6 separate regions of the Homo sapiens genome follow, and regions 1, 2, 3, 4 and 6 are each linked to region 5. The links are contacts of gene promoters, found by promoter capture Hi-C in blood cells and fetal thymus (Javierre and others, 2016). All regions are on one chromosome and are shown on one strand. Each heading gives the region's core, a stretch centred on a gene start or on the middle of the fragment in contact. The rest is flanking DNA. Distances are from core to core; before and after follow the strand shown.

Region 1 (4,807 bases), core at 2,113-4,612, 750 kb before region 5:
GAGGCCGAGGCAGGCGGATTGTTTGAGGTCAGGAGTTCGAGACCAGTCTGGCCAACGTAGTGAAACCCTGTCTCTACCAAAAAAATACACAAGTTAGCCAGACGTGGTGGTGCGTGCCTGTAGTCCCAGCCACTCAGGAGTCTGAGGCAGGAGAATCTCTTGAACCTGGGAGGTGGAGGTTGCGGTGAGCTGAGATCCTTACCACTGCACTCCAACCTGGGTGACAGCAAGACCCTGTCTCAAAAAATAAAAATAAAAAAAATTTTTAAAATTTTGTGGGTTAAGTAGTAAACTTAAAATGAAGTATAGAAGCAAACGGTGGTTGACTGCTCTTCCTGGATTCTTCCTCTGAAGGGGAGCAAGGCTGGTAGCTGGTGGAGACTGGTAGGACCAAAGGAGGTTTTTTATGGTTTTAGTTATAGAATGGGAGTGCCTTGAGCGTATTTTTATGCTGAAGTGAAAGGGCCAGTGGAGAGGGAAAAAACTGGTGGTTTGAAGTGTGACTTCATTCATTCATTAACTCAACAAGTACTTATTGAGCACCAATGTGTCGGGCTCTGTTCTCAGCCCTGGGGATAGTGTGTGAACAAGACGCACTGAAATCCCCGCCTTCATGGAGCTTGTATTCTATAGGGCCATCTTTTGATGGCTATTACCATATAGCCACCTCACTCCTGATGTGTTGTCTGTCCTAGAAGAGTGGCTTCCTTAACAAACAGTGAAGGAACAAAGGTCCCTAAAAAGACTGAACACAGGATTGTCTTAGTCTGGAGGAGGGACATCCCTGCCCTCATGTCTGGAGGGAGAGGAGTTACAGATAGGGGCTTATGCAGATAAATTTGTGGTGGGGAGAGGAAGCAGGTAGCTCAAGAAATTCCTCTGTTTTCTCTGTGAAGCTGGAGATGAGGTTATCTGGTGAGACTGAGTTGGGGAGTGATAGCATAGGAAGTTGAAAGTTAGGAAGCCCATTTCAGTTCAGTACAAGGAAAAACTTTTCAAAGGACTAGAATGTTAGGAAAATGGAGCCAGTTGCTGGCAAATGTAGTTCGTATATTGAGGTGGTGTCCCCATCACTGGTAGTATTGAAATAGAGGAGGGGTGACTTTCTGCCAGGTATCCCTGAGACATGCTTATACTTATAATAAGCAGAAGTTTGGACAAATGACCTTCCTCTGTATAGGAGTCCCTGACTCTAAGGTTTTCTAAAGCTCTGGGCTTCTGAAGGACTGTTGTACAGGCATGGAAGTTGAAACTACGAAGCTGGGGCAAAGTTATTTGGTATAGGTTTGCCAGAATTGAATGAGTAGGGCCGTGTCTCAAAACAAGGGTATCTCCAAATCAAAATATGGTTTTTTAAATGTGTATGGTACCTGGGGCTGGGCGCGGTGGCTCACGCCTGTAATCCCAGCACATAGGGAGGCTGAGGCGGGCCGATCACTTGAGGTCAGGAGTTTGAGACCAGCTTGGCTAACATGGTGTCACCCTGTCTCTACTGAAAATACAAAATTTAGCCAGGCATGGTGGCACACACCTGTAATCCCAGCTACTTGGGAGGCTGAGGCAGGAGAATTGCTTGAACCTGGCAGGCAGAGGTTGCAGTGAGCCAATATTGTGCCACTGCACTCCAGCCTAGGCGACAGTGTGAGACTCTGTCTCAAAACAAACAAACAAAATATGTGTATGGTTCTTGGGAAGCATAGGTCTCTTGGTTCCCCATTTTTCTTAGTGTTTGCAGTACTACTACTTTAGTGAACCAAGATATCTATCAGTTACAAAAGACCATTCCATTCTGCTAATTTTTTTGGTCTGTCTTCAGCTAGAGCAGTTTGGACATTCCTGTTCTGACAGCTGTGCCGGATTGAAATTTGTAACTCCCGTGTATCAGCACCAACCTGAAGCCTTTTATTTACTGTCAATACTGCAACACCAAAACATTTACTGTTGCTTCCAACTTTATTTCCATCCCCTGTTAGTGGTACTTTCCTTAGGTCAAGAGAATAACACTGATTCTTTACTAAAGTCTAATTTTCCCATACTAGGTGTGGCTAACATTTGTTCTAGACTTGGAGCCCATTTTTTTAATAGGAACCCCAAATTAAAAAATCAGCCAGGCATGATGGCATGCATCTGTAGTCCTAGCTACTCAGAAGGCTGAGGCAGGAGGCTGAGGCAGGAAGATCACTTGGGCCCTGGAGTTTGAGGCTGCAGTGAGTCATGCAGACTCAAACTCAGCTTGGGTGACATAGCCAGACCCTGTCTCTAAAAAAATAACTAGGTACAAATTTCATCCTTAAATGTAAACAACCAATCGTGTTCACTTTGGTTGCCCAAAGACTACAAAAAGCTCAGGGGCTCTGCCCTTAGGCCTGGCAGTGAAGCAGTTCCCAGGCAGAGTTTCTGTTTTCAAGGGTGCTCAGGATTTGGAGAAAAGTTCCTTTCAGTAACTGAAATTAGCTACTTGTCCCTGTGTAAGCTAGACATCACGAGGTTAATAGATAATGGATGAAGAGGCCAAATACCTCATCCTTAGCTGTGGAGAGCTTATAAAATAGTCCCTTTATTCTCATCTTTATCTTTTAATCCTGAATCCTTAGACTAGTTGACTTTATCATTACAGAATACCTTTTCTTACCCTCTTGACATGTCAACTACAAATACTGTTTCCTGGACTTTGTTTCTAAAGTCTGAAGTGTTTTTATGTTTCTACTTGTGACATGTATGCCCCCCCCCCCCCCCAACATTTGACAGTCCTTATTTCACTAGGGTTGCCTATGGGACATAAGGAAAGATGTTACCTATCCTAAGACATAGTAACCTGGTAAAATCTTATAGTGAAATAATAGGAACTTTATGAATTTGCATTGTGTAGAAAGGATTGATGGTAGAAATAATTTAGAGATTTCAAGCTTCTTCCTTTTTAGTCTGTGCCTGGGCTTTGTTTTTTGTTTTTTAAATTTTGGAGATATGCCACTGATTTCTAATTCCTGCCAAATTGCCACATGCCTCTTTAAGAGCCATCAGTAGGAAGGTGTCTATATCATTAGGAAACCCTGTTTTGTAGTTGTACCTTTGTTGATCTCTTTTTGAGACTTTTGTTTGTTTCTTGTTCTTATCAGGCAGACCCTGAACCAGAATAGGTTCAGAGAGGCTCTGATAGTTGTACTTTTGTTCCAGCAGAATGTGTGGACTTAAATTCTTAGAGTGATACTTTGAAAAAGAATTTGTTATTGTTTAGGACTCAGCATTTTGACCAGTCATAATTTAATACGCTAAGTCAGTGGTGAATGGGGAAACATGTATTATATTTAATAATTGTCAAGGTAAATGATTTATGATGTTGATAATTCATTTACTGATCTGTTTTCTTTTCAGGTGTTTTGGGGAACGAGTTTAGTATATTAAAATCACCAGGGTCTGTTGTTTTCCGAAATGGAAATTGGCCTATACCAGGAGAGCGGATCCCAGACGTGGCTGCATTGTCCATGGGCTTCTCTGTGAAAGAAGTATGTATATATTTTTTAAATGTTTGGAGCTGCTTTTAAGAACATTTTTACTGATTTCTGCTAATAGCCCAAAAAAGCATCAAACGAACGTAGGTACGTTTGGTACAGATTACAAAAGTTAAAAAGCTCATCTGGACCAGGCACAGTGGCTCACGCCTGTAATCCCGGCACTCTGGGAGGCCGAGGTGGGAGGCTCAGTTGAACCCAGGAATTTGAGACCAACCTGGGCAACATAGTGAGACTCCCATCTCAAAAATAAATGAATTAATTTTTTAAAAACCCATTTGTAGTTGGGAAGATTTTGGATGAGTGCTTCAAGCTTGGCTTCTGAAACAAATCATTAGAAATCATTAACTATATAATTATTTATTCATAGTAGTGAAATTCTTTGTATATTAGAGAATGCATCTGTCCTACTCTTAATAGGATATCTACTTTCTGGTTTTTTTTTTTTAGTATAGGCGATAGATTCACTATGAATGATAAAATATATATGCATTATGCCTGAGGTTAGGAAAATAATGTGGTCAGTAGCCATGGGGCAGCCAAGGACCTTGGTTTCCTAGAATGGAGCTATGACCTGTTGTAGTAATTGGCTGCTTATGTGATTGTAGGGGGCGGGAGGGTCTAGATCCAGTCAATGTGAGAGATCGAAAGGTAAGGGCTCAGAAGAAAGGAAATACAGCTTGCTCGGTGCTATCATCTCCTTCTCTTTGTAAGTCTGGTGCTTTTGATGTGGTCTCTAGATATATATCATCAGTCACTGAAAGGAACTTTTCTCCAAATCCTGAGCACCCTTGAAAACAGAAACTCTACCTGGGAACTGCTTCACTGCCAGGCCTAAGGGCAGAGCCCCTGAGCTTTTTGTAGTCTTTGGGCAACCAAAGTGAACAGGATTGGTTGTTTACATTTAAGGATGAAATTTGTACCTAGTTATTTTTTTAGAGACAGGGTCTGGCTGTGTCACCCAAGCTGAGTTTGAGTCTGCATGACTCACTGCAGCCTCAAACTCCAGGGCCCAAGTGATCTTCCTGCCTCAGCCTCCTGCCTCAGCCTTCTGAGTAGCTAGGACTACAGATGCATGCCATCACGCCTAGCTGATTTTTTAATTTTTTGTAGAGACAGGGTCTCGCTATGTTGTCCAGGCTGGTAGGTCTTTAACTCCTGGCCTCAAGCAATCCTTTCTGCGTCAGCCTCCCAAAGTGCTGGGATTACAGGCACGAGCCACCACACCCAGCCTGTACCTAATTCTTTTTTTGTTTTGTTTTGTTTTGTTTTTTGCTACAGGGTCCCGCTCTATCACC
Region 2 (4,377 bases), core at 831-3,330, 640 kb before region 5:
CCTCTGCTTTATGAACCCACAGCATTCTGAGGGGATGTCAGAATTCAAGCCTGACACACAGTCACACTCAATGCATATCTGCTGAACGAATCAAAGAAATGCAGAGAAAAGACATCCAAAAATACCAAGTGAGGCCAGGTGCAGTGGCTTATGCCTGTAATCCCAACACTTTGGGAGGCCGAGGTGGGTGGATCACTTGAGGCCAGGAGTTCGAGACCAGCCTGGTCAACATGGTGAAACCCCGTCTCTATTAAAAATACACAAAAACTAGCTGGGCGTCGTGGTGTGTGCCTGTAGTCCCAGCTACTCGGGAGGTTGAGGCACGAGAATTGCTTGAACCTAGGAGGCAGAGGTTGGGAGGCTGCAGTGAGCCAAGATCATGCCACTGCACTCCAGTCAACCTGAGCAACAGAATGAGACTCTGTCTCAAAACAAGCAAACAAACAAACAACAAAAAAAACAAAACCAAGTGATGCTGGATTGCCACTCCATAGATTAAAGGAATCTTCCCCCAGACCCTAGTAACTCTATGCAGAAATCCACAACACCCACAGGTTCTGAACACTGCTTTATGTTGTCTCATGAAAGAGAAGCAGCTTTCAGAGTGTGACTGCAACATGTGGCACCAAGTGAAACATATGACAGGGGCTTACTTTAATAAGCGAATTGCATGGCTGAAGCCATCACCTTCCACTTGCACTCCTTGATGTGGAATCTCCAGATTGGACAACTAGAAAGAGAAAAACAATTATATCAGACGACCAATTTTACAAAAACAACTACCATTTCTAAGTACTACGGTCTCTATTCTTGTGGCACCTGTTCTAGGACCATCCTTTCCCCAAGTTACAACATATTAGGCATGAGTATTATCCCCATCATTAGATTCCCTGGGAAACGACATGAAGTCCAGTGGAACTCAAAGCTGTCCCAGTGCATCTAGTTTAAGAAACACCTCCACAAGTGGCAAATATTCAAAATTTAGGAGATTAGTCTAATTTTTGCAGGGAGCCAAAAGTAATCTAGAATCAATTTTAGTAGTTCAAGAGGCCACAAGAATGGTTTCTCGTGTAATTCTCTTCTGTTTGTTCAAAACAATGTTTGAGTCACTGTCATAGCTTATTTCTAAATGATATTTTTTAGTTTACAACATTTCTGAAATACATTTTTAAGAATTAAACTACTTCCTATGTGAAACCCAAGAAAAGATTTCCAATTTGTGCATTTACCCAATGACATCTCTTTCCCAATTAAAGGATTCAGAAAGCAAATTAAAAAGATAAATGCAGAGATAGTGCCTGAAACCCTTTCCATGGGACTGCAAGTAATTACAGTATGCCAGAAAGTCATCTGATCTAAAGAAATGCTTGCCTTTGGCAGATATTCCCAGGTCTTGCATGACAGACTATTTATATCTACCATGTTCTGGAAAGGATTTAAGGAAGTTCCAGGTATTTGAGTGAGCCCTGCTCTTTGGGCCTGGGAAAGGGAAAGGTTTAGAAAAATAGCTGCTACCAAATAGGAAGTAGGGGTTCAGATTCAAAAGGAAATGAAGTGTGGGCCAGCTCAAAAATGTTGCTGCTATTCTATCAATCAGATATATAAACATCCGGCCAGATGCGGTGGCTCACACCTGTAATCCCAGCACTTTGGGAGGCCGAGGCAGTTGGATCACCTGAGGTCAGGAGTTCAAGACGAGCCTAGCCAACATGGTAAAACCCCGTCTCTACTAATACAAAAATTAGCTGGGTGTGGTGGTGTATGCCTGTAATCTCAGCTACTTGGGAGGCTGAGGCAGGAGAATCGCTTGAATCAGGGAGGTGGAGGTTGCAGTAAGCCAAGATTGCGCCATTGCACTCCAGCCTGGGTGACAAGAGTGAAACTCCATTTCAAAAAAAAAAAAGATATATAAACATCCCTTATAAGATGAGATTTAGTTTTAGTTATTCACATCTCAGCCTAAATTACTTTAAGCAGAAAATATACTTGCTTTTATCTTTAACATAGCTAGAATGTTCACTGAGAATAAAAAGTAGGTAAGTTTTTAAGAGCTTGACTGAGTTCAATAGAGAACTACAGAATGTTCATCTGTGTCCCATATGTGCAGCAGGTATAGGAATACAGAGAAGGTGGACAGAGAGGACGTATGTCTACAGTCATTAACCTACGTAGGCCTACAAAGACACACATTTTTGCCAATTCTGGCCTGTGGGTAGGGGAAGAGAGGATATAAATGCATTGCTTTGCCTCAGCACCACATATCCATCTTCCCTTCCCACTGCAAAGGTAGTAACTGAATGATATTCATATAATCAATCCAAATAACACAATAAAAGAGTCCAAGAACACAGTCAATTACATAGGAAACATGGACACACTCCACAGTTTAGGAGCTAAGGCCAGTATCCAGATAAGAGGACATTCATCAGGCTCACAGTTCTAGGAGCTGGGTCATCAAGGACATGAGTATTTATTTTAGGTGCCTGTTTCTAGGCTTGGGTTTCTCTCTGGGCTCTTTACAATTTCACACCTTATCCTCTGCCTACAGATCCCAAATTCCTGTAAAGCAGGAGTTGGCAAACAACAGCTCATGAGCCAAATCCAGCCCACTGCCTGGTTTTTTTGTTTGTTTGTTTTGAGAAGGAGTCTCGCTCTGTCACCCAGGCTGGAGTGGCTTGATCTTGGCTCACTGCAACCTCCGCCTCCCAGGTTCAAGCAATTCTCCTGCCTCAGCCTCCCGAGTAGCTGGGATTACAGGCGCCCGCTACCATGCCTGACTAAGTTTTGTATTTTTAGTAGAGACGGGGTTTCACCATGTTGGCCAGGTTGGTCTCAAATTCCTGACCTCAGGTGATCTGCCCACCTCGGCCTCCCAAAGTGCTGGGACTACAGGCATGAGTCACCGTGCCCGGCCCACTGCCTGTTTTTGTAAATGAAGTTTTTTACCGTAACACAGCCATGCTCATTTGTTTAAATATCAGCTCTGGCTGGTTCACACTACAACAGCAGATTTGAGTAGCTATAACAGAGACCACTTGACCGACAAAGTCTAAAATATTTATATTTGGCTCTTTACAGAAAAAGTTTCCCAATCCCTGTTCTAAAGCATGAAAGCTATTTTCAACAAATCTTCCCAAGGCCATCATCATCAGCCCAACTGAAAAAGTCCATTTTCACATTTCCAGGTCTCTCCTTCATTCACAATAACTTACAGAGGAGGGGATTCTTACAAAACATAAAACTTTAACCTACAGGGAAATAACTGGGGTTTTAGTGTATCACTTTTGAGGGGCTACCCATCCTTGGCCAAACTCCTTTTTGGAAATACAAAAAGTGCAGGTCTGTTACCTCCCTTTCACGTTTGAGGATTATATTGGATATCACAACTGCGTATTCTTTCAAGGCACTAATTCTGCATAAATCTATTGCTTCTCCCATGTGAGAAAAGTAAAAATTTAGTTTAATATTCTTTCTGATCTGCTTCTTAGAAAGGATCCCGGTTTTACTAGGGCTTAATCAATATACATGGCTTTACCAACTCAAAAATAAGCCACCTGGCTATCAACTAACCATCTCTAATAGGCTTAAACAATGCTCCTACTAAGAGGTATAAAAGTAAAATGTTAATTCTTAAAAACTGTCCACTTGCTTTTCTTTAATTTTTTTAAAAGAGACAAGGTCTTGCTATGTTGCCCAGGCTGGTCTTGAACTCCTAAGCTCAAGCAATCCTTCCACCTTGGCCTCCCAAAGTGCTGGGATTACAGGCATCAGTCACTGCACTCAGCCTGTCCACTTTTTCTTTTAATCTTTTTTTTTTTTTTTTTTTTTGGAGACAGAGTCTTGCTTTGTTGCCCAGGCTGGAGTGCAGTGGTGCAATCTTGACTCACTGCAACCTATACCTCCTGGGTTCAAGTAGTTCTCCTGCTTCAGCCTCCCAAGTAGCTGGGATTACAGGCGTGTGCCACCACACCCGGATAATTTTTGTATTTTTAGTAGAGACAAAGTTTTACCATGTTGGCCAGGCTGGACTCAAACTCCTGACCTCAAGTGATCCACCCGCCTCGGCCTCCCAAAGTGCTGGGATTACAGGTGTGAGCCACCGTGCCCAGCCCTGTCCACTTTTTTTAACTGGGAAAATTTTACATTCAATTTCCATAAAGAGCAGAAGACCCAGAATCTGGAATCAGAGAGATGAAATAATTCAAGTCATGTTTTACATGTATACCATTAGATGCTATGATTGTAACCCTACCACTCCTCCCAAAATGAACAGGATCACAAACATTCTGCTTTTCCTAATGGAATCTATATATACCCTCAGCAACACATTTTAAAAACTACTCTTTCATTTGGGGTATCCAGAACTGTTCCAAAAAA
Region 3 (5,017 bases), core at 215-2,714, 670 kb before region 5:
TTAGAGACAGGGTCTCACTCGATCACCCAGGACAGAGTGCAGCAGCATGATCACAGCTCACTGTAACCTGGAACTCCTGGTCTCAAGCAATCCTCCTGCCTCAACCTCCCAAGTAGCTAGGACTACAGGTGCATGCCTGCTAATTTTTTAAATTTTTTGTAGAGAGAGGGTCTTGCTATATTGCCTAGGGTGGTCTGGAACTCTTGGGCTCAGTGATCCTCCTGCCTCAGCCTTCCAAAGTGCTGGGATTACAGGTATAAGCCACCACACCCAGCCAATTATTTTATTTCAATAAAGACTCAGAGTCAAAATCAGCCTCCCCGCACGGGCACTCCAGAAGGCAAATAATTACTGGTATGCTATTCTCTGCAAGGCCAGATCCTGTGCGCAGTGCTCCTGTGTGCTGCAGAAATCTATCTCCAGGTCCATGTTAGCCATATAACATAGAAGCCACAGCACAGCAAACTGTATAATGCAGAAATATGTTAACATAAGAATGGAAAAGAAAATAATGGAGTCCATTTTTAATGCCAGGTTAGGGTGAAAATCATAATTCTAACAAGCTTGTTAAAGGAGGGAAGGTGAAGGAATGTCACGTTAGTTCAGATCCTATCCTGCAGGACAATTTAGCATTTTACCCTTAACAATCACCACTTAGAAGGTCATTAGGTACCCATACCGTTTCTTGTTGAATAATTCTTTGAAGATGTCGTCTCATGATGACTGATCCAAGGAATCTCTCAAGTGGAGAACAAAGGTAACTACCTGCCAGGCCGGGCACAAGGCCTGGAGTTGGAGAGGGCAGCAGTAAAATGTTCAAGGCACTGTGAGTGAGGATGGTAGGTATGGATGCCGCCCAAGAGCGCTGAGGTAGTTTACGAGGTGGAGGCATGTTTGTTGGCATTGTTTGAGAACCTTTTGGGAAGGAAAACATGTTATGTCATTTACAAATACATACTATCTCATTGCTTCCTGTTTTGCTTTCATCATAAATCTTTGATGTTCTAAATCATTCTGTACTGTTTTAGTTACTCCTTGTGGTGTAACAATCATATATTAACAACCTGTTAGCAAAAATGGCCACTATTTTTCTCCTTCTTATATCCAGGCCCCTTGCAATGTGACTTTGCAGCAACTCCTTTAAGGGGTGGACTCTATTTCTCCACCTGAAACCTGGCTGGCCTAGTATTTGCTTCTGACCAACAGAATGTGGTGGAAGTGACACTGGGCTAGTTGTAGGCCTCAGCTTCTACTCCCTGCCTTAAAATCCTGTTGAGCCACCATGTGAACAAACCTCAGATCAAGTGTGAAACCACACAAAGCAGAGAGAAACCTTGCCATCTGAGGCCATCTAGTCCCAAACCAACCCAGCAGCTGACTACAGACACATGAGTGAGCTGCCCAGCAGAGTCTGAAAGAATCACTCAGCTGTGCTTAGTCTAAACTGCCAACCTGCAGAATTGTGAACCAATATATAACAATCATATATTGTTTTAAGCCACTAAATGTAGCAAAAGCTAACCAATAAATGTGTACAATTCTCTTCTCTGTTATTATGTGTGATATTGTGAAATATATATTTGGTCTTTGTCCTAGCTCCTGGCATACAAATCCTAAAATTTTTGGACTCTTCAAAGTGGTTAAGTGTCCTTTTGTATGCTAATGAGATGGCTGATGGCTGGCAGCCCCTAGGTAGCTTCAGGAAGGGGGCTGATCACAGGAAAGACACGGCACAATTAGAGGGTTGGTAGTTTCAGCCCCACCCCCAAAGTTGATCACCAGTGGCCAGTGATTTAATCAATAATGCCTACGTGATGAAACTTCCATAAAAACCCAAAAGGACAGAGTTTGGAGAACTTCCAGATAGGCAAACATGTGAAGGCTCACAGAGGGCATGGAAACTGCACTCCCCTTATGCATCTCTTCATCTGCATCCTTTGTAATATCCTTTAAGTATCCTCTCTCAAAAAGTAGGTCATGACTTTCAAATGTGAGGATGCAACAAGATAGGTCACTTTGGGTTATACTAAAAAAGAACATAAAAATGTTGATGATACTTACTTGTTCCAGCTCGAGGGGAATGAGAAGCATCTGGAACCGGAGAATGTAGTGAGGGGTTGGCTGGTGACATTCCAGGCATGCGTGCTGCTGGTGAGGGGCCAGACACTTGAGGAGATCCTGGCCAGTTCCCTGCTCGTCCACTTGGTGACACCATAGTGTATGGGGAACTAGGGTCAAGAGTTCCTATAAAAAAGGTAAACAAATGATTCTCAAAACCTATATTTTAATAACTGAAAATTATTTGACAGCATTCAAATCTTTACACAGTAATAATTTTATTTTTTCTTCCAATAAGATGTTTCACTGAAGCTTGATGTGTGTTAACATGTCATGCCTGAATCTCTATTTTGTGTAAGGTACTTTTTAACATGATACAAAAATTAGAAAAATATAAAGCTTGAGAGAGGATAAAATTTACCTTCACACAAGCTTCAATGTATGTAATATGTAACAATGTATGCTACTATATGCATTAAAATATTAAGCAAACAATCTCAGAGTTCCTTTAAAGGCAGAAATATTATATTTTTAAACCAACTTTGACAAACCATATTTTCATTCTACTCTAAGTAGAATGAGGAGAAGGAAATTTTCCATATTCTTTATTTAGACTACGTTGACTAAGAAATGAACCAAGACTCAAGTTTTGAAAGCAGTGACTTCCTGAACAATTTGATATTTAAATTTCACCCTCCATTGGTATCTACGAAGATATTCAAAAATAAAAAATAAATAAATTTCATCCTCCAGATACCTTCAACATATTATTTATATCCCTCTGTAACCAAATGACAAACTGAAAAAATACTTTTACCATGTATATGTCAGAGAGTAAATGGTCTTTACTTAGGTCTTACAAATGGGCAAGAAAAAACACAAGAACATAGGCAAAGCATATATAACTGGGAGGTATAAAATAAGAAACACCAAAGACCGGCTAGGCACGGTGGCTCACACTTGTAATCCCAGCACTTTGGAAGGCTGAGGTGGGTGGATTGCTTGAGTCCAGGAGTTCGAGACCAGCCTGGGCAACACGGCAAAACCCCATCTCTACAAAAAAATACAAAAACTAGCCAGGCGTGGTTGTGCACATCTGTAGTCCCAGCTACTTTGCTGGGGAGGAGGTTGAGGCAGGAGGATCACTTGAACTTGAGAAGCCGAGGTTGCAGTGCACTGAGACTGCACCACTGCACTCCAGCCTGGGTAACAGAGTGAGACTCTGTCTCAAAAAAAACAAAACAAAACAAAAAAACCAAAGACCAACCAAAAAAGGTTCAATTTTCTTCACTAATAAAGAAATACATTAAACAGTAAGATACCATTTTTCACCTATGAAAATGTCCAAGGTCTTTAAAATATGTAATACTCCCTGGCGATGATGCAGGATAACAGACATTCTTGTATGATGGCATGGGAAATGGTACAGCCTTTCAGATGAGCAGTTATATGTTTCGAAAGCTTTAGAATTTGTCAAATCCCTTGATACAACAATTCCACTTCTGGAACTTACTTAAGGAAATAATCATGGATATGAGCACAGATGGCACCATTTTTAATTGTGAAAAAATGGAAACATTCTAAACATGTAACAATAGGAGAGCAGTTAAGTCATGGTATGCCCAGACAAGCGGATATTATTACACCATATGGTATGATGATGTGGAGTTTTTAATGACGGAAATGTTCCCACAAATATTAATAGTAAAAACTAAAATCCCAGATGCTACACAGCTTAAAAACTGAGGAACCTGTTTATGTTCTATGGTATCATACTCATGATATATTAAGTGAAAAAAGGCACTGAACACTGTAAAGTATGCTGTTGTGTGTGTAAAGGAGAGGGGAAAGAACACTTGCATGTATTTGCTTGTGTATGCATAAAACAGCTCTGCAAGAATATCTACATGTTTCTGGGAAGAGGAACTAGGTGGTTAGTGGAATAAAAAGGAAACCTTTCATTGACTACTTGTTCTATTTTTTATCTAGTTGAATCAATTCAAAATAAAATTTTGAGTTCAAAAGTTAAAAAATTCAAGTCTCAAAACAATTCATATGTTAGGGTACCCATTGTTGGGGGGCAAGGGCAGGTATTTGAGGGGGGAGACAAGCAGCTTGGTAGACAGCAAGTGAGAATAACAGAAACGTGAGAGGGCAGGCAAGCAGGGCATGTGTGACAGGAAGGGCAAGGCAGAGCAACGGAGACAGCAAGGGAGAGTCCAAGGCAGAGACAAACTCACTGGTCGTTACCTCTGTGTGGTGGGATTAGATAAATTTGATTTTCTTTTTGCTTGAGCAATATTTTTGCTACTTCCTCAATAAACAAGTATTAATTTTGCAATGAAAAAATTTACTCAACAAAAATTATTTTCACATCAAGCTCTTATGCTATATCGATTTCCATGTATGGACTCACCATGTGGACTAGCAAAACTGGCCCCTGGTCCTATTGAGATTCCATGCGAGGATGGGGGAGGAGTTGGAACAAATGACGCTGGTGATGGGGCTCTCAAAGCCCCACTGGGGGAGCTGGCAGCATGCAGATTTCCTAATAAAGGAAAATAATTATAGATAATCTTGCAGGACACATTTTATGTCCTGTCCAAGGACCCCAAGTTAAAAATCTCCCTATAAATTAAAGAAACAAGTAGTATAGCTCCCATATATATAACACAGAGAAAAACTGGCACGATTTCATTATTGAAAGAGACTATTCAATTCCATGCGCCCAAATTCTAGCTCTTATATTGACTGATTAAAAAAAAAAATCCGGTGTACTTTTTATTCAGTTCCTCATTCATTCAACAAGAAGGCCTGAATGCCAACTTCATGCCAAGCACTGTTTCAGGCATTGGGGATGCAGCAGTTAACAAAAGAGACAAAAATTCCTGCCCTCACAAAGCTTATATTCTAATAGAATGAGAAAGACAAGTATCTGTCAGGTAAGTGCTATGGAAAA
Region 4 (4,996 bases), core at 1,369-3,868, 760 kb before region 5:
TCTGCCACCCAGGCTGGAGTGCAGTGGCATGATCTCGGCTCACTGCCACCTCTGCCCACCTCCCAGGTTCAAGCAATTCTCCTGCCTCAGCCTCCTGAGTAGGTGGGATTACAAGCGCTTACCACCACGCCTGGCTAATTTTTGTATTCTTAGTAGAGACAGGGTTTCACCATGTTGGCCAGGCTGTTCTTGAACTCCTGACCTCAAGAGAGCCGCCCACCTTGGGCTCCCAAAGTTCTGGGATTACAGGCATGAACCACTGCACCTGGCCCATGTTTTACTTTATGCATTTCTGTATTTTGAGGTTTTTTTTCACAAGTATGCATTACTTTGGTAACATAAATTTTAAAAATTAAACTTTTTATAAAGTGATGTTGCATAATAATTATGTGATGAGATGCTGATAATATATTGTTGGGTAAAATGGTATTCCATTAGCTATGACAGCCATTGTCTCCTTACCTATATGCAAACCCGTATGGCAGATTGTATTTTCCAAAGATGGCCACACCAATAAATATCCGAATCCACAGGCTCTTCTTACAATGTGACTTTGACTTTGACAAGCCTCTACTGATGGGTGGAGGGTCCATGTTCCCTCCTCTTGAACCTGGGCAGCCCCTTATATCTGCCTTGACCAGTAGAATAGAGAGGAAGTGATGCTCAGTGACTTTCTAAAGCTAGTTCATAAAAGGTGCTATGGCTTCCACCTGGTTTTCTCCTTTTGGGGACACACACCTTAGCCTTTGGAATCCAGAGTTTCCATGGAATCCATCTGGTTACCCTGAAGCCACCTCCTAGAATGTCCATGTGTGGAGAGGTCATGTAGAAATAGAGAGAGAGTTGCCCAATATGCCCCAACACTTCCAGCCCCCAGATGTTTGAGTCTTTCCAGCACAGGTGCCAGGCATGTGAGTGAAGAAACCTTAAAGATGACACCACCTCCAGCCACTGTCTGACTGCAGTGGCACTGAGAGACCCCAAGCCAGATGCCACCCAGCCAAGCTGCTCCCAAATTCCTGATCACAGAGACGTGATCCTGCCTCTACTAAAAATACAAAAATCAGCTGGGCATGGTGACAGGCACTTGTAATCCCAGCTACTCAGGAGGCTGAGGTGGGAGGATCTCTGGAACCCAGGAGGTGGAGGTTGCAGTGAGCCAAGATCGGGCCACTGCACTCTAGCCTGGGAGACAGAGCGAGACTCCATCCCAATAAAATAAATAAATAAAGTATGGACTTTATTATTAATACATTAATATTGGTTCTGACAAATATACCACACTAATGTATCATGGTAACAATAGGGGAAAGTTGGATGTAGAGTATATGAGAATTCTCTGCACTATCTTTGTAGCTTGTCTATAAATTGAGACCTATTCTAAAATAAAAAGCTCATTCAAACAAATTCTAACTGGAAAGTTGAACCGGGCACCAAGTGGAAAGCTGAACTGTGGATGAAGGAGAGAGCAAATGCCGCACGAGAAGTCTGAACACCACGAGAGTTAGGAACATGGGGCTGTAAGCTCCTCCAGGGTGAAGTCTCAGTCTGAGGCACCCTTCTCTCCCCATCCCCAGTGCCACACCTAGTGCAAACAGAACTCAACTTCTGTGCAGAAGAAATGGGTGAGGACAATGACAATGCAAAGCCAGGCTTCCATGCTCCTCTGTAGGCTCTCCCTAATACCCAAGAGCGGGTCAGTGCAAGGTGCTCCCGCAGGCCGCTAGGTGCAGGTTTCCTGGAATGGCCCTGCTGGGGATGAGGAAGGGTATCTAGAGACTGAAGATTTTTCATTAATAAGTCATCGCATTCATAAAGGGGAAGTAGCTACCAGAGGTGATGAGAGAAGAGGGAGCACAGTTGTTTTCCTGAGGCTGGTAATGGATCCTTAATGACCAATTCACACTCCCGAGTCTAGACTCTTTCCCCTATGGTCAGCAGGACGATGCTCCATAACTGGGGGAAGCTGGAGTGTGATCTCCCTAGAGGAGGGAGGGGCTTGAAGACTGCTGGAAGCTTTAAACAGCTGCAGGGATGGGGAGGAAGGGAGGAAGCAGTGAGTGGGGCAGGAGAAAGGGTGGTCAGGCAGGTTTGAGGGCCCACATGACAGCCACTTCCCAGGGGTAGGGGAATTTCCACAGCAGCAATCAGCAGCCCATTATAGAAAAAGAAGGTGGGCAGCCACATGCTGGGAGGAAAGGGAATCAGGCTGTGGTTTTTTGAATCATGGGTTAAAAGCGGAACGGGGAAGGCAGAAGAGACAGAAGCGGAGCTGGTGGGAGGAAATAGAGGACCTGCTCACGACATCAAGCACCTCAACCAGCTCCTGTCAGCTCCAGAGATTCTGTCTTAAAAAGAGTTGTAGCAGAGATGAAATCTTGCCCTGTCTTTGCTTTTGTAATTATCTGTGCTACCGGAAAGGGGTCCAGATCCAGACCCCAAGAGGGAGTTCTTAGATCTCGAGCAAGAAAGACTTTGGGGCGAGTCCATAAAGTGAAAGCGAGTTTGTTAAGAAAGTAAAGAAATAAAGAATGGCTACTCCATAGGCAGAGCAGCAGCTTAGGGTGCCCAACTGATAGTACTTATAGTTATTTCTTGATTATATGCTAAACAAGGGGTGGATTATTCATGAGTTTTCCGGGAAAGAGGTGGGCAATTCCTGGAACTGAGGGTTCCTCCCCCTTTTAGACCATATAGGGTAACTTCCTGACATTGCCATGGCATCTGTAAACTGTCATGGTGCTGGTGGGGGTGTCTTTTAGCATGCTAATGCATTATAATTAACATGTGATGAACAGTGAGGACGACCAGAGTTCACTTTCATGGCCATCTTGGTTTTGGCAGCCTTCTTTACCGCATGCTTTATCAGCAAGGTCTTTATGACCCGTATCTTGTGCGGACCTCCTATCTCATCCTGTAACTGAGAATGCCTAGTCCTCTGGGAAGGCAGCCCAGTAGGTCTCAGGCTCATTTCACCCAGCCCCATTCAAGATGGAGTCACTCTGGTTCAAATGCCTCTGACATCTGGAAATTGAACTTACTGTGATCCTTTTACTCCCAGAAAATTCCCTCCATTTCATACTTATGGATAATAGAAACCATCATTTGTTAATTTATTCATTCACTCATTCATTCATTCATTCCTTCATCCATTGCTGTGTGCTTACAATGTGCTCTGTGCACATTGGGCACTGCTAACTTGGAGCTGAACCACGTGGAAATAAGCTTTTTCTTCTTTACCCCTTCAGATGGGACATAAATTCTCAGTTTATTTCCCTAAGATTTAGCTCTGAAGTTATCAGGGCCCAGTGTTCACACAGTGCATTATAAACACACAATATTAAATAAAGGGATGAATGAATAGTGAATGAACAAATTCACAAATAATGTTTCCTATTCATGTGAGTTTAAATATACTCATCCACTAGGTGCAAACTGAGAATACCCTACTTTTGAAAGTTTTTAGATACAATTTGATATGGTTACATGCTTACATCTTTTTTCTCCCTTTCACACAGCTACGAACTCTAACTTGCATGAGTCTTAAGTGGACAACTTATTGCATTTTCACCTATGTATATCCCTCATGTAACCACCACCTAGATCAAGACACAGAACATTACCGGAACCCCAGACAGTTCCCTTATGCCCTTCAAGTCAGCCTCCCTCACCTTCAGAGATAATTAATATTCTGACTTCTATTACCATAGATTCAGAAGACACTCTGCATTTGATTAGGTTTTTTCAGGGGAGTTGGGAAGAACTATCCCAAAGTCACTGAAGTCAGTATCCAGTGTCTCAATGAGATGAAGTGCCCACTAAAACTTGGAAATAGGTTTGTCCTCTGCCTCAGTCGGGGTTTAGTCAGGAAAACAAGATATATCAAGTAAGGCCAGGCTCGGTGGCTCACACCTGTAATACCAGCACTTTAGGAGGCCAAGGAGGGTGGATTGCTAGAGCCCGAGAGTTTGAGACCAGCCTGGGCAACAAAGTGAGACCCCCCATCTCTAATTTAAAAAAAAATCTCAGGCCAGGCGCGGTGGCTCACACCTGTAATCCCAGCACTTTGGGAGGCTGAGGCAGGTGGATCACCTGAGGTCAGAAGTTCAAGACCAGCCTGATCAACATGGTGAAACCCCGCCTCTACTAAAAATACAAAAATTAGCCCGTCAGCTGAGGCAGGAGAATCGCTTGAACCTGGGAGGTGGAGGTTGTAGTGAGCCGAGATCGCACCATTGCACTTCAGCCTGGGCAACAAGAGTGAAACTCTGTCTTAAAAAAAAAAAAAATCAAGCCAGGCGCAGTGGCTAACACCTGTAATCCCAGCACTTTGGGAAGCCAAGGCAGGTAGACCACTTGAGGCCAAGAGTTTCAGACCAGCCTGGCCAACATGGCAGAAACCCTGTCTCTACTAAAACATACAAAAATTAGCTGGGCATGGTGGCACACACCTGTAATCCCAGCTACTGGGGAGGCGGAGGCTGCAGTGAGCCGGGATCATGCCACTGCACACCAGCCTGGGTGACAGAGCGAGCCTCTGTCACAAAAAAAAAAAAAATGCTGACAGATCTTAAGAAAAGGATGTACTCATCAGAAGGTGAGGTTTGTCAGTGGAAGTATATAGGGAGCCTGAGAAAAGAATAAGGATAAGAATAAGAATAAGAATAAGAATAAGAATAAGCAAGCAGTGTCCAGATGACAACATGCTCATTTTAGCCAAAAATATTTTGGTTACAAGTCCCCAGACACCCAATCAAACCAGCTGATGCAAAAGAGAAGGTTGACATCACATCCATTAGGATGGCTACTATCAAAAAAAAAAAAAAAAAAAAAGGAAAGAAAAGAAAAGAAAAAAAAACTCAGAAAATAGCAAGTGTTGCTGAGGATGTGACAAAATGAAAACCCTTGTGCACTGCTGATGGGATTGTAAAATGGTGCAGCCTCTAAGGAAAATAATATGGCAGTTCCTCAAACAATTAAAAACAGACTTACCACA
Region 5 (4,808 bases), core at 1,875-4,374:
GGGCGGAGTCTTGCTCTGTCGCCCAGGCTAATTTTTGTATTTTTTTTAGAGACGGGGTGTCACGGTGTTAGCCAGGATGGTCTCAGTCTCCTGACCTCGTGATCCGCCCGCCTCGGCCTCCCAAAGTGCTGGGATTGCAGGCGTGAGCCACCGCGGCCGGCCTGGTTTCAGCCATTTCTAACCCTTTTTTAGGTCACTTCAAATAAAATTTGCAAATAACTGCCATGTGGAGAAAATATGCAAATGTTGCTAAACGGAAAAGTCATTCGGAGTGCTGTGAAAGTTGGCTCATTTATTTAGCTGCCTCAAGTGTGCACATCATTCTTTTTCAAAGTGAATGTGTTTAAAGACAAAGCTTTGTATGTTTTCCCGCTTCCTCTCCAATTGGATATTCCAATTATAACGTATTGATTAACAAAATACCCTGGTGGTTTGAACCAAGTATGCCTATGAGCAGGGGTTAATTGAAAATAGGGAACTGCTGTATATTTCAATTCTTTTAGGTACTCCCATGGCGGTACCCTGTACTCGGCTCTACTCAAAAGTAAAACAAAGCCCAGAACCAGGGTAGTCAGTGCATCCCATTGTTGCTATATGCAGTTTGAAGAGCTGTCGGAACTCACAGTTTTCGAACCTGACTCATGTTTACCCTGGTTCATAGGAAAACGAAACTGAAACAAAACCGAGGTCCTTCACCAAAACTCCATGAGAATCCACGAATCTCAGGGCAGGAAGGGACCCTAATATCATTAAACCTAGTGGCTCTCCAAGGGGCATTGTAGAAATCTGTGTATTTCTGGTTGTCACAATGACTGGCGAGAGCTACTGGCATTTAGTGGGCAGGAGCCAGGCACGCTAGGATGTTCTATGATGCTGGTCAGTCCCACAGAGCGAATAATTGAATCACTGGACACATGTCGGTGAAAAACTAGTTCATTATCATCTAAGCCTAGAACTAACACTGTTTTACATATGAACACAAAGTATCTTTGCCCAGTTTCCATATATCCTGAATTTTCCACAAATGCAGGTACTGTTTCAATTGAAGGAAGATTGTACTGTTTTATTTAAAAATTATTAATAGTTCATCATTTTGGAAAATGAGGTTCCTAGTAGCAATGCTGCTCATGGAACTTGAGTTGTGAAATCAACACACCTTTCCAGTTTGCATTTGTGGCTCTACTGGGCAAGTGTCTTCCCACCAGTTAGTGTAGCTGTGCGGCGGCATTTACATATTATAATACATTGTTTTATTATAATCATTTTGCTTTCGTTTGTTGACAGATCATGTTTTTTGAAATTGTGTTTGTAGGTTTACATAAACAATTTAGGTTTTGTTATTTCAGTATAGGTAAAGGGGGCGTTAGAAAATACTCGTTATGAAAAGGAGTTGGGTCTTTCACAGGGTTATGGAATGTAGCAGACTCCTTTTATAGATGAGCAAATTGAGACCCAAAGCCGTTAAACAACTTGCCCCCGACAGTGTGATATTCTCTCCCTATCTCGTTCGAATTTCCGTCTCGATTTTAAAAATTGAGAAGGGAGAGAAGTTATGTGTATAGTAAATTATGTGATGAGCACGAACTATTTGAATTCTGGCAGCAGAAGACCTTTTGTGGGGGTGGTGGAAACCACTGCGTTTTATTTAATTTCGTAGGGCTGAGGGTCAGAAGAGAGGGGAAAGCGGTCATAAGAAACTACGGATGTGCGGGCGCCGGCTCAAAGCCGGGAATCCACTAGTAAACACCTTCTTCTATTTAAGGGCCTGCGGCACCGAAGCCGGGACTTGGGGTGGCCTGCCTAGGAGGGAACCACAGGAAGAGGTTCCACCGACGGTAGAAACCCGGTTCCTCCTGTTCCTCATCCACCGCAGCGGCCTGAGAGTCACCCCGAGCCCAGGCCGGTAACCCCGCTGCAGCCCCTCCGGCAGGCCCAGGTTGCACCGGCTACAAACATTCCCGACACCCTTGGGCCCTAGAAGAGCCGTTCGCCACCCGCGGGGTCCCCGCAACGCCGGTGGTCACCGGCCCTAAGCCGCTGGGCGCCCCGCGGGAGGAAACTAGGGGCAAATGTAGCCCGCATTCCTGCGGAGAGCCGGGGTCCCGGGAGGGCGCGCCAGCGGCGGTTCCGGATCAGCGCGTGTCTGTCTCATTGTTCCCTCACCGCGGGGGGCGGGGGCGGAGGCGCGCGCGCACACGTCGGGGGGTTGGCCAGGAGGGGCCATTGTGTGTTTCTAGGCGGCGCCCCCGCTGCCTAGGCAACCGCGCAGGAAGGTGTCCGGCCACCTGCGCGCGCCGCCGGCTCCCCTCCATTTCCCCCCGACTCCCGCCCCGGTCACCATCCTACCCTCCTCCCTCCTCCTTTCCCCTTACTCCGCTCCCCTCTTTTCCCTCCCTCTCCTCCCCTTCCCTCTGTTCTCTCCTCCTCTTCCCCTCCCCTCCCCCGTCCGGAGCACTCTATATTCAAGCCACCGTTTCCTGCTTCACAAAATGGCCACCGCACGCGACACCTACGGTCACGTGGCCTGCCGCCCTCTCAGTTTCGGGAATCTGCCTAGCTCCCACTAAGGGGAGGCTACCCGCGGAAGAGCGAGGGCAGATTAGACCGGAGAAATCCCACCACATCTCCAAGCCCGGGAACTGAGAGAGGAAGAAGAGTGAAGGCCAGTGTTAGGAAAAAAAAAACAAAAACAAAAAAAACGAAAAACGAAAGCTGAGTGCATAGAGTTGGAAAGGGGAGCGAATGCGTAAGGTTGGAAAGGGGGGCGAAGAGGCCTAGGTTAACATTTTCAGGCGTCTTAGCCGGTGGAAAGCGGGAGACGCAAGTTCTCGCGAGATCTCGAGAACTCCGAGGCTGAGACTAGGGTTTTAGCGGAGAGCACGGGAAGTGTAGCTCGAGAGAACTGGGACAGCATTTCGCACCCTAAGCTCCAAGGCAGGACTGCTAGGGGCGACAGGACTAAGTAGGAAATCCCTTGAGCTTAGACCTGAGGGAGCGCGCAGTAGCCGGGCAGAAGTCGCCGCGACAGGGAATTGCGGTGTGAGAGGGAGGGCACACGTTGTACGTGCTGACGTAGCCGGCTTTCCAGCGGGTATATTAGATCCGTGGCCGCGCGGTGCGCTCCAGAGCCGCAGTTCTCCCGTGAGAGGGCCTTCGCGGTGGAACAAACACTCGCTTAGCAGCGGAAGACTCCGAGTTCTCGGTACTCTTCAGGGATGAGTCATGTGGCAGTGGAAAATGCGCTCGGGCTGGACCAGCAGGTGAGCCGCAAGAACCCCACCGGGCTGGCTGCTGCGTGAATTCCTCCCCTGACCTAACCTGGCTAATGGCGCAGCGCTAACCGGCACCCTTACTTTTCATTTTCTGGGTGCCCCGGGCTGGCGGGTGTGAGTGCCCCGGGGCTATAGAGGGATAGGAATGTTGGTTGGGGCTGTCGCCCGGGCCCGGTCTCGGCCCGCTGTATTGTCCCCGGGACGAGCACAATGGCGGCTTTTGTGTGTGCGTGCGCAGGCGGGCGGAGGGGGAGGAAGTGCGCGCGCTCTCGCGGGGACGCGCATGCGCGAATCCCGACTGATTAGTGACCTGGGGGGGTTTGCGGGAGTGCGCAGCGCGGCGGGACGCGACTGGAGGCCCTTTTGGCTTGGAGGGCTTCGGCCTTCACGGCTGGCGCAGCCTGGATTCCCGTCCGGAGGACCTGGCGGCACCCGGTGTTTGCGTGCCTGCGAGCAAGGGGTAGAACGCGGCCCAGGAATGTGGGAGGGGGCGGCCTTCGCTCGGGGTAATGGCGGCGGCCTCTTTTGTGTGGTGCTGGGCGGCGCTGTGGCTCACCTCCGGGAGACGGCGGGTCTCGGGCGGGCGAAGGCCTGGAAAGGAGGATGGAATGGGTTTCTTGTTTTTTCCCGGGTTCCTTCCGCTGGCTTTTTCGCTTCAGCCCAGGTTCCGCAGGGTCCGGGGGCCCTGCGCCGCAGCCGGGGAGGCTGCGTTTCCGGAGTGGAAAGTTTTGTGACGCAGAAGATTGGGGAGGAGTGGGGGAGGGGTGGGGGCGGGGAGGGGAGGCAGGAATTGGCCGCTGCGCGCTGGGCCCTGGAGATAGAGGTTGGACGTGGCGGGGAGGTTAGGGAGCCAGCGAGGCCCTTTCTCCTCCTTGCTTGCCCCAGATTGTCCCTGTGTGGTATGTTAGCCGGGAGTCCCGCGTTGTTTTTCTGGGGTGGAGGGGTCATCGCGGGTTGTGGTAGTGTCTTCGTGTTAGTGACTGTGATCCAGGAATCCGCCATTGGAAAAACACCCGGCTTAGGGGGGAAGTAAACAGTTTTGTTGTTGACTTGTTGCTATCTGTGGAGTAGAATCTTGCAATGGGTCCCAGGCCCCCGGGTTTTTTCTCTTAGCCAGAATCCCCTCTTCTAAGGGTTTAGGGGCAGAGGAGAGAAAGATGTGTGATTTGAGAGGAGAAGGTTATGGACTTTGGTGGCAGGAAGTCTGCATCCCACCGCAACAGTGGCACCAGGCTTCAGATAAGCTCTTGTGTGGGTTATGCGGAGCTTTTAAATAAACTACTGTCTACTGTGATTAGGGGAGCGTTGATTTCACAAACTCCGGAATAATCCTGAGACGAAGTTTAGTGGCACAAATTAATTGAATACATAGTTTAATGTAGTCATATGTAATATTTTTTAGGAATTGATCTGTTCCTTTGGAAGCATTTTCTACCCGTTAATGAACCAATTATATTAAATCCTCTAATTGCTGACACATGTTGAATTGAACAGACACTTTAACAACCTACCAGCAGCACAGAGTATTCCCAGTTT
Region 6 (4,449 bases), core at 280-2,779, 600 kb before region 5:
GACAAAACTGGAAGCTAAGCATACAAAAGGACCAGTGTATGTCAAGGGTTTTACAGTAATTATGCTGCATGGTGGTTAGATGAAAAATTTTTATTGCTTTTAAACAGCTCCAACAGGATTTTTAAGTTTCTTTTTGCTAGTCCTCCAATACTGATAGCCAGCAACCAATGTCAACTTCTTCCCAGATAAGCTATACCATTTAACATTCACATCCACTGATGCCTAGAAAGATCCTTAATGCCTCCTGAATTGCCACATTCTGTTAACCTCTATCCCACAGTCCAAGATTCAATGGCCTAAACAACTCTCATGCCTCTCCCACAGCTAATCAGTTCTTGAAGTACACACACCCAGCCATTTAGATTGTCTCCCACCCACGTGCCACAGGAACAGAAAAACTAAAACTACTTCCAGAGGTTCAAAGTACAAGGAGGAGAAAATATTAAAATGATCTCTGGCTTATAGTTACCTCCTACTCTTAGGGTAGACGGTGAGATGGAAGTTAAAGTTATGGTCAGAATGATAAAGGGAACTAGGTGGGGGCTGGAAGGGCCAGCAGACCGGAGAGATGAAGCAGAAATTAAGGCCCTGTTAGAAGACTGCAAATAAAGGCAGCTACTGGCAAGTTCCTCTACAAGCCAAACCTCTTGAGAACACTCCTTGAGAAGCCACAGCCCTTGTTTTCACCTCAAGGGAGGGGGAGAATGAGAACGATGGGTATCTATAAGGGGAGAAGGGGAGCAGAGTTTCTGGGGGTAGAAAGAACAGGAATCATTGTTCCCACTCCTCCTACCTGCCTCAGAGACCCTAAAAGAACCATCTCATGTCAGCGGTAGTATCAGTTCAGGGACAAAAGACAGGCTTTGCTGCCTGCCTCCCCTTTCCCCTATTCCTCCTAATCTATTTGAAATTCTTTTATGGATAAGAAAGCTACCATTTAGAGTAAAAGTTCTAAAATGCAAATGTTGGGAAGTAAGGCATAGAAACTTATTTACACCAAAGCACAATAAGACAAGATTACATGACTGAGATCCTGGCATTTTCTGAATTAAAAGAAGTTTAAAAAAAAGGGGGCGGGGGGGTCAGGTACGGTGGCTCACACCTGTAATCCCAGCACTTTGGGAGGCTTGGTGGCGGGGGGGTGGGGTGCAGATCGCTTGAGTCCGGGAGTTTGGGACCAGCCTGGGCACACATGGCAACCCCATCTCTACAAATAATACATATTAGCCAAGTGTGGTGGCAAGTAGTCCAGCTACTTGGAAGGCTGAAGTGGGAGAATCACCTGAGCCCTGGAAGTCAAGGCTGCAGTGAGCCATGATTGTGCCACTGCATTCCAGCCTGGGTGACAGAGCAAGACCCTGTCTCAAAAAAAAAAAATAAAGAGTAGAACCTAGGTCTCTAAAAAGTCAAGGCAGAGAGTAAACTCTAGGATGAGAGCATGTATGTTGAGGGGGAAGGGAGGTGGACAAGCAGAAGGAAAAAACCCAGAAATCTGAGACCAAAACAAAACCACCTAAGTTGCCAAGGTTGTCCTTTTTACCTTCAATAGTTCACACACAAGCATCACATATTACTGAAGTAACTGTTTCCCTAAAGACTCATAAAGTATACCTCGAACACTGGCTCTACATTAACATATTAATCCTGACAGTTTTTAGGGAAAATACACTATTTAGGAACTTCCATGGTAAGTTCCCAAACTAATTAATTAATAATTACCACAATCAAAAGTGAAAAAAGTTGTATACCTGTGTATCAAGAACAAAAATAACTTTTCCTATTAAATTTCCCATGGTTTACAATTCTTTTTGAACAATATTTTTATTGATGCATTAAGCATGTACAGTTTCACAGTACATATAATTTCATACATTTATATAATTTGTAAAGATCAAATCAGTGTACTTGTGATATCCATCATCTTAAATATTTGTTTTTTCTTTATGCTGGAAACATCTGAATTATTCTCATCTAGCTATTTTGAAATGTACAGTAGATTCTTGCAAACTAGTCACCCTACTGAGTTATCAAACACTAGTTATTATTTCTTCTATCAAACCATATATTGATTTATGACAATTCTAAACATTCATTCATTCATGTATTAAATCAATAAATACTTAGTTAAGCCCTGTGTGCCAGGCATTGTTCTAGGCACCAGGGAAAGTCACAAACAAATCAAAATCTCTGTCCTCATGGGGTGGGAATGGACAACAAACTAATAATGTCAGGTGGCAATAAGTGCTGTAAAGAAAAATAAAGCAGCAAGTAAGAAGGACAGAGTGAAGGGGCAGAGTACTATTTTATAGGTGGTCAGAGAAAATCTTTCTGATAAATTGTATGTAAACAAGGACCTAAAGGACTAATGAGAAAGCAATTCACACAGATTTCTAGGGAAAAAGCAAAGGCTCTAAGATGGCAGTGTGCTAGGCACTAACAAGAAACATCAAGAAGGTTTGGAGGCTGGGCACAGCGGCTCACGCCTGTAATCCCAGCATTTTGGAAGGCCAAGGCGGGTAGATCACCTGAAGTTGGGAGTTTGAGACCAGCCTGGTCAGCATGGTGAAATCCCATTTCTACTAAAAATACAAAAATTAACCAGGTGTGGTGGTGCATGCCTGTAATCGCAGCTACTCGGGAGGCTGAGGCACAAGAATCACTTGAACCCGGGAGGCGGAGGCTGCAGCAAGCCGAGATCACACCACTGCACTCCAGCCTGGGCAACACCGTGAGACTCTGTCTCAAAAAAAAAAAAAGGTTTGGGAGGCAGAGGTGGGAGGACTGCTTAAGCCCAGGAGTTCAAGATCAGCCTGGGCAACATAGTGAGACTCTTGTCTCTACCAAAAATAAAAAAATTAGCTGGGCGTGGTGGCGCATGCCTGTAGTTCCAGCTATTTGGGAGGCTGAGGCAGGAGGAGCAGTTGAGCCCATGTCGAGAGGCTGCAGTGAGCATGACTGTGCCACACTGCACTCCAGCCTGGGCAACAGAGTGAGACCCTGTCTCAAAAATAAAAAAGAAACATCAGGAAGGGTAATGTGGTCGGAACAGGATAAGCAAAGAGGAGAGTTTCAGGACATGCAGTTAAAGAGGTAAGGGACAAACCAAAAGTGGTTAAGAGGTTGGAGAAAAAAAAAAGGTTAAGGAACAGAGAAGGCACATCATGTAAGGCCTTAAAGGTAAGATGACCACATGTTCTGGTTTTCTGGTTTGCCCAAGACAGTCCTGGTTTATGCCTCTTGTTCTGACATTATTATCATCAGCCCCATTATGCTCAAAAGTGTCCCGGTTTGGACTATAAATTTTATGGTCACTATACAGATGATTATCAATATTTTTTTTTTTTTTTTTGAGATAGGATCTCACTGTCACCCAGTCTGGAGTGCAGTGGTGCGAACATGCTCACTGCAGCCTCAACCTCCTGGGCTCAAGCGAACCTCCTGGGCCCAAGCAATCCTCCCACCTCCACCTTCCAAGTAGCTGGAACTACAGGCTTGGGCCACCACACCCAGCTAATTTTCTATTTTTGGTAGAGACAGAGTCTCGAACTCCTGGGCTCAAGTGACCCCCTCCCCTGCCTCAGCCTCCCAAAGTGCTGGGATTACAGGTATAAGCCACCACACCTGGCAATTATCAACACTTTTTAATCTCAGTGAGATGGGGAACCATCGAAGGGTTCTAAGCAGAGAAATTTTAAAAGAATCATCCTGGCTATTTTGTGGAGAAGAAACTATAGAAGGGGCAAGGGAACTACAGAGATACCAGTGAACTGACTATTGCAGTACACAGGTGAAGGATTAGGTGGCTTGGACCAGCACTTGGTGGAAGTGTTGAGAAATGGTCAGACTCTGAAGTCAAAGATAACAGGACTTGCTGATGTATGTAGGATGTGAAGAGAGAGGAGCCAGGAGTTATTCCAAAATATTTGGCCTGAGCAACAACAGGAAGAATGGAGAGACTAGTGAGATAGCAAAGAAGGTTCTGCAGGAGGGAGGACAGTGGAATCAGGAGTTTGGTGCTGGAGTTGCTATGTTGAAATGCCCATCAAGATACTGAAATGTAGGCATCTGGATATAGAGTCTGGAGTTCATCAGAGAGGTCTGTGCTGGAGATACAAATATGGGAACCATCACATAAAGGGTGTGGGACTATAACTACATACTTATTCTACGGCAATAAAACAGATGTTCCTCTCTTCATAAGCCAAGTCCTAAAATAGTAAAAAGACAACCACAATTCAAGGAATTTCTACAAATCCCCTATGGAAAAGCAAATTACACCACCGATAGCAGCAGTTTTCAACATTTTTTTTCCCACAGCTCTATATAGGCACATACATGAAACTTTCTCATGGATATTCTTGGATTTTTATGAAATCCAACAATAAATGGTGCAGAGAGGTATATCATTATAATAGTCCCTAAACCTGACAGCGATTTAAATTTCTCATT

What was found. Contacts are between HindIII fragments. The CHiCAGO score rates a contact against its expected background, and 5 or more counts as called.
Region 1: a contact is called between a fragment that was not itself captured here and the fragment with the promoter of DDX3X in region 5, in 1 of 17 cell types (naive CD4 T cells). The highest score is 5.5, in naive CD4 T cells.
Region 2: a contact is called between a fragment that was not itself captured here and the fragment with the promoter of DDX3X in region 5, in 1 of 17 cell types (naive B cells). The highest score is 5.1, in naive B cells.
Region 3: a fragment that was not itself captured here is called in contact with the fragment with the promoter of DDX3X in region 5 in 4 of 17 cell types (erythroblasts, total B cells, naive CD8 T cells and 1 more); the score reaches 6.4 in erythroblasts.
Region 4: a fragment that was not itself captured here is called in contact with the fragment with the promoter of DDX3X in region 5 in 2 of 17 cell types (naive CD4 T cells and monocytes); the score reaches 7.4 in naive CD4 T cells.
Region 6: a contact is called between a fragment that was not itself captured here and the fragment with the promoter of DDX3X in region 5, in 11 of 17 cell types (fetal thymus, erythroblasts, total CD8 T cells and 8 more). The highest score is 10.6, in fetal thymus.

What each region holds. Positions count from the first base shown.
Region 1 is chrX:40,585,614-40,590,420 of GRCh38, forward strand. It overlaps ATP6AP2 (ATPase H+ transporting accessory protein 2), which reads left to right. Exons shown (of 9, transcript NM_005765.3): 2 at 3,373-3,503. Among named protein-coding and RNA genes, the nearest start is that of ATP6AP2, 7.0 kb to the left of the region's middle. The HindIII fragment of the contact is 916 bases long and covers 2,905-3,820 here.
Region 2 is chrX:40,687,801-40,692,177 of GRCh38, forward strand. It overlaps MED14 (mediator complex subunit 14), which reads right to left. Exons shown (of 31, transcript NM_004229.4): 16 at 654-730. Among named protein-coding and RNA genes, the nearest start is that of CXorf38, 42 kb to the left of the region's middle. The HindIII fragment of the contact is 7,880 bases long and covers 1-4,377 here.
Region 3 is chrX:40,662,246-40,667,262 of GRCh38, forward strand. It overlaps MED14 (mediator complex subunit 14), which reads right to left. Exons shown (of 31, transcript NM_004229.4): 24 at 4,475-4,606; 25 at 2,062-2,244; 26 at 680-915. Among named protein-coding and RNA genes, the nearest start is that of CXorf38, 17 kb to the left of the region's middle. The HindIII fragment of the contact is 1,807 bases long and covers 562-2,368 here.
Region 4 is chrX:40,568,728-40,573,723 of GRCh38, forward strand. No RefSeq gene overlaps it. Among named protein-coding and RNA genes, the nearest start is that of ATP6AP2, 9.7 kb to the right of the region's middle. RefSeq lists enhancers at 2,303-2,392, 2,403-2,482. The HindIII fragment of the contact is 1,209 bases long and covers 2,015-3,223 here.
Region 5 is chrX:41,331,038-41,335,845 of GRCh38, forward strand. It overlaps DDX3X (DEAD-box helicase 3 X-linked), which reads left to right and starts at 3,125. Exons shown (of 17, transcript NM_001356.5): 1 at 3,125-3,260. The coding sequence starts at 3,216. RefSeq lists a silencer at 1,946-2,435 and an enhancer at 2,526-2,755. The HindIII fragment of the contact is 5,677 bases long and covers 354-4,808 here.
Region 6 is chrX:40,729,776-40,734,224 of GRCh38, forward strand. All of the region lies in intron 1 of MED14 (mediator complex subunit 14), which reads right to left. Among named protein-coding and RNA genes, the nearest start is that of MED14, 3.5 kb to the right of the region's middle. RefSeq lists a silencer at 596-645. The HindIII fragment of the contact is 7,459 bases long and covers 1-4,449 here.